Linked DNA regions of Homo sapiens: region 2 is linked to region 1. The links are contacts of gene promoters, found by promoter capture Hi-C in blood cells and fetal thymus (Javierre and others, 2016). All regions are on one chromosome and are shown on one strand. The core of a region is centred on a gene start or on the middle of the fragment in contact, and the rest is flanking DNA. Distances in the headings are between cores, read along the strand shown.

Region 1 (4,628 bases), core at 1,192-3,691:
CACGCCCAGCTAATTTTTGTATTTTTAGTAGAGACGGGGTTTCACCATGTTGGCCAGGATGGTCTCGATCTCTTGACCTCGTGATCCACCTGCCTCAGCCTCCCAAAGTGCTGGGATTACAGGCATGTGCCACCGTGCCCAGCCTCTTTTTATTATTACTTATTATCTCAGATTTCTAAAGCACTTAACAGTTTGGGGAGCATTTTTATATCTACGCTCCCAACTGAGTATCACAAGCATACTATGAAGTGGTTAGAGTAGATATTATCATGCTCCATTCTAGGGCTGTAGAGAGGCCCTCAGCAATAAGGGCCACTGTTGTGCTTGCTCTGCCAGGCTGATGCACTTGGCTGCTGATCTGAGTGTAGTCTCTTATTCATTTGTACCTAGTTCGTCACTTAAGCATCTTGACTTACTTATGTTTACATAGCATAAAACTTTTGGCCTACAAAGGAGCTTATCAAAAAGGAACAAGTTATATGACAGTAGAAGAGAGGCTGGAGAAGGGTAGGCTATTCACAAAAACTGATTTAGGTAAAGCATTTTAAAATAAAAATTCTATCAGACCTTCACACAGTAAACTAGTTCATAATAACATTTTTCCTTTCCTAATCACAAGCATCATAATTCATAATTACAATATTTGTCCAGTTCTCCAGGGAAAGATCTGCACAGTACACATCAGGAAATGCTCTTGGAGATCAACAGGAGAAATGAAACTAAAACTCAAGGCTTCGGCTTTCATGCACAGTAAACCTAACTTCATCTTGATAAATTATGAAAACCTCAGCTTTCTTACCTGTTTTAGCCAATATTTATCACATACCCATCATGTGGAAGAGGTTGTTCAATGCAGTAGGGCATACAGAAGGGACTGAGGCAGTCCCTACCCTGGGGGCATATGGAAAGTACCCTCACACCTTCCATGCCAGGCAAAACACACAGACAGTGATACAGCACATCTACCGGGGTAACTCAGGATGAACAGTTTCAAAAGAAACACGTGAACCTAGTCCCTGAAAAATGGGAAAGATGTCACACAAGATGGAAGGAGAGAGAGGTGGCAGGAGGAGAACACACACATGATCAGTTCAGTTTAGTTGTGGTAGTAGAGAGCATCCTGGGACCAAATTCAAAACGAAAAAGCCACATGTTAAAATATCTATTCTCGCTCCTAAAGAAAACGGTAGCACCCTGTAGTCGCACTGCAAAGTAGAAATGAGGAACAAGACAGCATCAGGGTGACCCTTTGCCTGTCAACAGTCAGACAGGCCAGAATCAGGCCCTGGGCTGGAGGAGTCTCCCTGGGTTGATTTCTGTGCTACAGTGCTGTCAGCAGAGTGGGGTGGGGGAGGGGGAGGCGCGCTTTTTTCATCTACCCGGGGAGCAAACACCAACTCCTGCAGCAGTTCTGCCAACAAGGCAGAACTATGACGAAACTGATTACCACTAGCCTCTCTGTATCAGAGTCAAGATATGGGGTGGATGAGTCCGTTCCCCAAGGGTGTGCTTTGGAGCCACTGCCACAGAGCTAAGAAGCCCCTCTGCTAGAACACACCTGTGCCCTATCTGCCCAACCCTAGTTCACCCTGATGTCCCAGCTCAGCATTAATCGTGGATCCTTCGCGGGGGCCCGGGGCCCCCAAACCCTCCTATTTAGGGACCACAATTCCCCAACTGGGGGCACTGTCCCCAGATCCAGAGGGGCAGTAACAGTCCCTCTTGCAGATTTCGGATCTTCATCCTGCCACTGAAAGGCCACAAGGGGGATTTCATCCCGGTTTCACCTTCAGGACCGTCTGAGCACTTCTCGGGCGATGCAGACCAGTGGAAGGCACTGGCTGGCACCAAGGCCCGCTCCTGGGAGCCAGGCCGCGGCCCCTCCAAGGACCACAGGTGGGCAGCGGAAGACTCAGAGCAAGAGCCAGGGGCGAAGATGGCCCTCGCTGCGGTCAACCCGGAGCACGTGCTGGGGCTCACCAGCCTCTCCGCGCTGAGGACAAAGTCCGCTCCCGCCGGCTTCTTGGCTTGGGCACCGGGTACCGGGCGTCAGGGGCGAGACAGGCAGGACTTGCGCGCGCCCCGACTCGACTCCAGACCCCGACCCGACTCCGGGCTCGGCCTCCCGCGACCCCTGCGCGCACTCACCATTGTGGTTGACCCAGGTCGGCTTCAGGAGCTTCATTGTTCGGCCGCCGCCGCCGCCGGGCTGAGGCGAGCGCCGGGTCCCTCAGCGCGCCCGGGCCATGGAGCCACCGCCGCCGCTTCCTCCCGCGCCACCCGCCCTCCGGCCGCCGCCCGCCCCGCGCCCTCAGGGCCGCCGCGCCATCGCCGGCCCGCGCCCCCCTCCGCCGCCACAGCCGCCACCCGCGCTCGGCCGCCGCCGCCGCCACCACAGCCGCATCCCCTGCGCCGCTCCTCCTCAGGCGGCTCCCGGGCAACGCCGGAAGTCACGGCGCGCACCTGCCAAATCGCCCCGGCGGGAAACCGCTCCCCACGCGGACTGGGCCGCCCCGGCTCCTCCGCTGGCAGGGGCTTCGGGTCGGGCCCGGGCGCGGGCGCCCCAGAAAGGGCGGTTCGCCTGGACGGCGGACAGCGAGCGGGGCCTGCAGTTGCAACCCGGGCCGCCCGCAGAGGCAGGCGGGGCCCAGGTGGCGTGGACCGCCCGTCACCAGCTCTGCCTCGCCAGTCTGAGTCCGACTTATTAACTAGCTTCCGTCATTCATCAACACGCGCTATTGGGCATCTTGCGAGCGCCGGGCTCCGCGCCGGCGCCGGAATGCGATCCGGGCTTCGGACTCGAACGAATGCGGGGGACGAGCCAACCCTGGTGGGGGAGGCTGGGGCGGACGCGTTTATTAGAAGATCGGGGCCGTTTGCCTAGACATGAACATTTGGACTCGGAGGAGCAGAGGGACGCCCCCTCGGCCGCTCCGGCTGCACTGCGGAGCCGAGGCCCGCGCGAGGGCGCAGACCGACCAACCGGCTAGGGCCTGACTGGCTAGACTGTGCCCGCTGCAGAGGCGCGCTCCCAGCACAGGGCGGGGACGGAAGGGAGGACCCCGAGCCGCGTGAAACGCAAGGCCCTCGTGTGTGCGCAGCTGACACCCTAGGCGGGGCTGCGTCGGGGGCGGGGACAGGCGCGTCCCAGCCCACGCAGCCGGAACGCCTGAGCGCTGGGCGCCTGGTCTGCCGGACCTCAGCAGGGGGCACCGCGGGCCGGACTGTGGAGGGGCGCACGCCCGGAAGCGGCGAGGGTAGCCATGACGGCCTCCGTGCTGCGAAGTATCTCGCTAGCCCTGCGCCCGACTAGCGGGTGAGTGCGGACGCTGGCCGGATAGCGGAGTGCCCAGGGCGCGTGCGGGGTCTTCGCGACTGTCCGCCAGGACTCGCCTGTGCTCCCTGCTCGCCTCCCAGTCCACGAATATCTCAGGGATGAGCCATCTGGTCGTGACTCTTATGCATGAAAATCTGAGCACCCTGGCGAGCAGCGGTCCTGCTTAAGTCCTCTGTGGTCTGAACGAAAGATTTTGAAAAACCTTCCACGTTGACCTTGCTGTCATATCAAGTAGTTAGAAGTGCCCCGGGTTTGGGAGCATTGCAATTTTTTATTTTCCTGTGAAGTGGGAGAGAATCAGATATTTATTTATTTATTTGAGACAGAGTCTCGCTCTGTCGCCCAGGCTGGAGTGCAGTGGCGCGATTTCGGCTCACTGCAACCTCTGCCTCCCGGGTTCAAGCAGTTCTGCCCCGGCCTCCCGAGTAGCTCGGATTACAGGCGCCCAACACCACGCCCGGCTAATTTTTGTATTTTTAGTAGAGACGGGGTTTCACCATGTTGGCCAGGCTGGTCTTGAACTCCTGACCTCGCGATCCACCCGCCTCGGCCTCCCAAAGTGCTGGGATTACAGACGTGAGCAACCGCGCCTAGCCTGGAGAAGCAGATATTTATACATACTCTTGTATCTTTCAGGCTTCTGGGAACTTGGCAGACGCAGCTTAGAGAGACTCACCAGCGAGCGTCATTGTTGTCTTTCTGGGAACTCATTCCCATGAGGTAAAACTCAATCGAGGGCCTGACCTCTGGGGGTAAAGGTGTCAGTCTATGTGTAGAGAACAAAGCAAGAATGCTGGATGTGTGGTTTGCAAAATTAACAGCCTACAAAGTTTCTCAGTTAAATTTAGGCCGATGCTTTTCTGTTTTTCCAACATTTTCCAAACCATAGATTGTTGTTTGTAATTTTTAAAATTTGAGCAGTTTCTCAAGAAGTAAGTATTCTCCTTGAAGGGATTCTTGTGTGTTTTAAAGGACACAGCTTAAGTTTCTGTTTCTCCATGACCCTTCCTCTTCCCTGCCCATTCGGAGGCCCTGGAGAGTGTGGGGAAGATGCAAGTATTAAAGGTATTTCCATCTGGCACTCTCGACTCTTTGTAGATACTTGATTCAGTCAATCTTGATAGTAAAGGATTTGATTTTTCTTTTTTTTTTGAGATGGAGTCTCACTGTGTCACCCAGGCTGGAGTGCAGTGGTGTGACCTCGGATCACTGCAACCTTCGCCTCCTGGGTTAAACTAATTCTCCTGCCTCAGCCTCCCAAGTAGCTGGGATTACAGGCGCCCACTACCAC
Region 2 (4,628 bases), core at 775-3,274, 330 kb before region 1:
TGACTGGTACTGAAGCACTATTTGATGAGTAAATCAGCAATTGGGACATGCTCTTCTGGCCTAATGTCTGTCTTCCTCAGCCACAATTAACCATTAGACCAAGAACCTGGAACCCTCCATTCCTCCTCAGTGTATTCTAGGTCTTCAGTTTTATTAAAAATTTCTAACTTCTTATTATTTTGCCATAAAAATGGAACATGAATGGAACTGGAGGACATTATGTTAAGTGAAATAAGCCAGGCACAGAAAGACAAACTTCACATGTTCTCATTCATATGTGGGAGCTTAAAAAAAGTTAAACTCATGGAGCTAGAGAGTGGAGTAGTGGTTACCAGAGGCTGGGAAAGGCAGAGGTGAGAAAAAGAGGTTGGTTAATAGGTACAAAAACACAGTTAACTATAGTTAATAATGGTTTATTCTATACTTCAAAATAACTAAATGAGTAGAATCAGAATGTTCCTAACACAAGAAAAGTTACAAATGCTTGAAGTGACAGATACCCCAATTACCATGATTTGATCATTACACATTCTATGCTTGTATCAAAATATCATATATACCCCACACATGTAACTACTGTGTCCATAAAGTTAACAAAAAATTTTTTTAAAGACTAATGCAGGAAAAAGGAAAAAAAAAGCCTTCTAATTTCCCAAACTATACTGAGAAAGAGTTCATTCACTGAATAGAGATTTAGCAACAGAACATTCTTTTTTATTTTTTAGAGATGGGGTCTTACTATGTTGCCCAGGCCAGAGTGCAGTGGTGGCTATTCACAGGCACAATCATGGTGCCTCAAAGTCAAATGACTCTCCCACCTCAGACTACAGGCCTGAGCTACCCCGCCCAGCAGAATATTTTAACAGTGTCCATTCTATTAAAAAAAAAAACAAAAAAAAAAAACACCCTATGGTGTTGTTCAAAGTAAATTCATAGCTCATGTCACAGCCCTCCAAATCTACGCCCTAACATATCATACCCTAGGCCCAGAAAAACTTCAATGCACTACCTTAAATTATTTTTGGAAATAGTTGAGTAAGAAGTAATAAGTAACAACACTGGGGGTTTTCTTTCTCCATACCCCTATATCCTCCAAAAGCAAACGTCAGCCAAGTCTTCTCTGGCAAACAAGGCCCCTTCCCCCATGCACCACATCCACCTTGCCTTGCCTTGGCTGCTTCTAAGTAGTACTTGTCACTCCTGGCTTCCTATATATCAGTATATAGTAAACCTATATATATATATACATATATAGATATGTAAGTGAAACAGCCAGGTGCAGTGGCTCACGCCTGTAATCCCAGCACTTTGGGAAGCCGAGGCGGGTGGATCACAAGGTCAGGAGTTCAAGACCAGCCTGGCCAAGATGTTGAAACCTCGTCTCTACTAAAAACACAAAAATTAGCCAGGTGTGGTGCGGGTGCCTGTAATCCCAGCTACTCTGGAGGCTGAGGCAGAGAACTGCTCGAATCCGGGAGGCGGAAGCTGCAGTAAGCTGAGATTGCACCACTGCACTCCAGCCTGGGCGACAGAGCAAGGCTCTGTCTCGAAAAAAAAAGTAAAGCTTCCTGAGGGCACAGGTCATGTCTGCACTGTTCACTCCTGTGTTCCCAGGGCATAGCCGACCACACTTAGTGTCCATAACTCAAACACACTTGAAGAATACTTCTTCTCTCCATACTCTATGCATGTCTGGGAAAGGCTCCAAAGGCCCAAACAGCCTTCCTCTTTGAGAAGTGCCCATCTGGCCACTCCATGAGTGCCACCTGCCCTGCCCCAGGCTGGGCCAATGAGAAGAGTCTGTAAGGTGATGGGAGTGGGAAGATCCAGGCTAGCCAGACTGAGACAGTCACTTGAAGTTCTGTGCACCCTGAGGCAGAAAGAGGTAAGGGCTAAGACCAGAAGGGCTGAGAAAGGGGAGCAACACCCTTCACAGTCCCATGACCCCAAGGATGGCTGTGCTTCCTCCCTGGGCTCAGGGAAAAGTTCCTCCTACAGCTACTCCTTACAACCAGACAGCTCTGGCTAAAATAGCCCCCACACGGATTTTCTGTCCTTTTCTTTCTTTCTCCAGACTTTTAAAAAAAAAATAGTTATCAAAAGAGGAAAAATAAGCTATCAGCAGAATGACTGTCTTGCTACATCCTGAACACAGCTGGGCTCCCCACTGCTGGGCCTTAGTCCATGGCATCCCCTCTCCCCAGGTCTCAAGACACACCACTCTCCAGGAACCCCTCCCCAAACTCCCCTAACTGAGTCGGCCTTCTTGGCCTAGCCCTGTTTTCCTAAGCAGCCCTTCTCTGTTCTTTTCTTCACACCCTGAGTAGGGTCAGCACACTTTTCCTTCAAGGGCCAGATGATAAGTATTTCCAGGTGGCCAGCTTCACAGGCCACCCTCTCTCTGCCACAGCTGCTCAACCCTGCTGCCGTGGAGCTAAAGCAGCTGCAGATAATATGGGAATGCGTGGGCATAGGCATGTCCAATAAAGCTTTAGCGAAAAACAAAAAAAAACAGTGGCCAGTTGCAGGTATAGTTTGCCAAACCCTGTTCTCGAGTATACATATAGGGACATTTTACATACATGTAAATGTTTTGTTTTTTGAGACAGGGTCTCGCTCTGTCACCCAGGCTGGAATGCAGCGGCATGACCACAGATTACTGCAGCGTAGACACCCTGGGCTCCAGTGATCCTCTTGCCCCAGACTCCCAAGTAGCTGGGACTACAGGCACATACCACCATACTCAGCTAATTTTTTATTTTTTATTTTTAGTAAAGACAAGGTCTTGCTATGTTGCCCAGGCTGGTCTCGAACTCCTGAGCTCAAGCAATCTTCTCACCTTATGCTCTCAAAGTTTTGGGATTACAGGCATGAGCCACTGTGTCTGGCTGAGGGACACATCTTTATTGCTGCCCCATACTCCATGTCACCAACACCCCACACATGGAGGCATGCACTAAATGCCTAATGAACTGCACAGCTCAAAATCTTCCCATATTCTGCTAGCAGACAATGAAGTGTCAGAAGTTCTCCAATAGGGAAGGTTTTTCTCCCTTCTTGATCCATCTGTCAAGCCGGGTCTATTCTGGAAGCAACTGAAGATGTGGATCACTCATTAACACTGGCACCTACTCTGTGCCAGGCAGTTCTCCAGGTGACAGGGCTGTGGTAATGAACAAAGAAAGTCAATTCCAGGACATGACAGAGCTTGCATCCAGCACAGCACACCAGATGGTGACTCCAACAGGTCAAACTGGCATTGCTTTAGCTGGACATCAACACTGCGTTTCCACTGACTACGCGTGGTGACTCACGCCTGTTACCCCAACACTTTGGGAGGCCAAGGCAGGTAGATTACTTAAGCCCAGGAGTTCGAGACCAGCCTGGCCAACATGGTGAAATCCCAGCTCTACTAAAAATACAAAACATAAGCCAGATGTGGTGGTGTGCATGCCTGTAGTCCCAGCTACTCAGGAGGCTGAGGTGGGAGAATCACCTCAGCCTGAGAAGTCAAGACTGCAGTGAGTCACGATCACACCACTGTACTCCAACCTGTCTCAAAAAAACAAAACACCACCACCAACAAAAAATTGCCTGTCCTTTCTCAATATCCTCCACAGTCTCTCTGTAAAGCAGTAAGTGCAACTTCTGCCACATACAAAGTTGCTTAAAAACAGTCACCCTTGGCCAGGCGTGGTGGCTCACGCCTGTAATCCCAGCACTTTGGGAGGCCAAGGCACGTGGATCACAAGGTCAGGAGTTCAAGACCAGCCTGGCCAAGATGGTGAAACCTTGACTCTACTAAAAATACAAAAAAATTAGCTGGGCATGGTGGCACATGTCTGTAATCCCAGCTACTCTGGAGGCTGAGGCAGAGAATTTCTTAAACCCAGGAGGCAGAGGTTGCAGTGAGCCGAGATTGTACCACTGCACTCCAGCCTGGACGACAGAGCAAGATTCTGTCTTTAAAAAAAAAAAAGTCACCCTTGACCCAGTATGGTGGCTCATGCCTATAATCCCAGCACTTTGGGAGGCCAAGGTAGGAGGATCACTTGAGGCTAGGAGTTTGAGACCAGCCTGGACAAGGCGAAACCCTGTCCCTACTAAAATACAAACATTAGCTGGACGTGGTGGCACACACCTGTAATCCCAGCTACTCGGAAGGCTGAGACACAAGAATCGCTTGAACCGGGGAGGCGAGGTTGCAGTGAGCCAAGATCACGCTACTGCACTCCAGCCTGTACAACAGAACAAGACTCTGTCTCAAAAAAAAGAAAAAGAAAGTCACCCCTTTTCACTGATGGCTTTACAAGGTCCTGTCCCAGGCCTTCTGGTGATGACTGTCACCTTGCTGTAGCATGGCAGAGGCAGGCCAGCTCCTCTTAGCCAATGGATTGTTGACACTTTATGAAACAATCCATGCCCACAACATACCAGCCACAGTACCAACATAAGGACAGCCCCATCCTGGCTAACATGGTGAAACCCCGTCTCTACTAAAAACACAAAAAAATTAGCCGGACGTGGTGGTGGGTGCCTGTGGTCCCAGCTACTCGGGAGGCTGAGGCAGGAGAATCGCTTGAATCCGGGAGACGGAGGTTGCAGTGAGCCAAGATCGTGCCACTGCA

Evidence for each region. Contacts are between HindIII fragments. The CHiCAGO score rates a contact against its expected background, and 5 or more counts as called.
Region 2: a fragment that was not itself captured here is called in contact with the fragment with the promoter of HIRA in region 1 in 2 of 17 cell types (naive CD4 T cells and naive CD8 T cells); the score reaches 7.0 in naive CD4 T cells.

The regions. Positions count from the first base shown.
Region 1 is chr22:19,429,292-19,433,919 of GRCh38, forward strand. It overlaps HIRA (histone cell cycle regulator), which reads right to left and starts at 2,442. Exons shown (of 25, transcript NM_003325.4): 1 at 2,149-2,442. The coding sequence starts at 2,185. It overlaps MRPL40 (mitochondrial ribosomal protein L40), which reads left to right and starts at 3,254. Exons shown (of 4, transcript NM_003776.4): 1 at 3,254-3,316; 2 at 3,974-4,057. The coding sequence starts at 3,264. RefSeq lists enhancers at 909-1,038, 1,279-1,348, 1,297-2,044 and silencers at 2,329-2,728, 3,019-3,328. The HindIII fragment of the contact is 6,181 bases long and covers 1-4,628 here.
Region 2 is chr22:19,096,004-19,100,631 of GRCh38, forward strand. All of the region lies in intron 1 of DGCR2 (DiGeorge syndrome critical region gene 2), which reads right to left. LOC124905078 (a long non-coding RNA gene) reads right to left here and starts at 4,181. Exons shown (of 2, transcript XR_007068002.1): 1 at 4,142-4,181; 2 at 1-3,163. The HindIII fragment of the contact is 925 bases long and covers 1,563-2,487 here.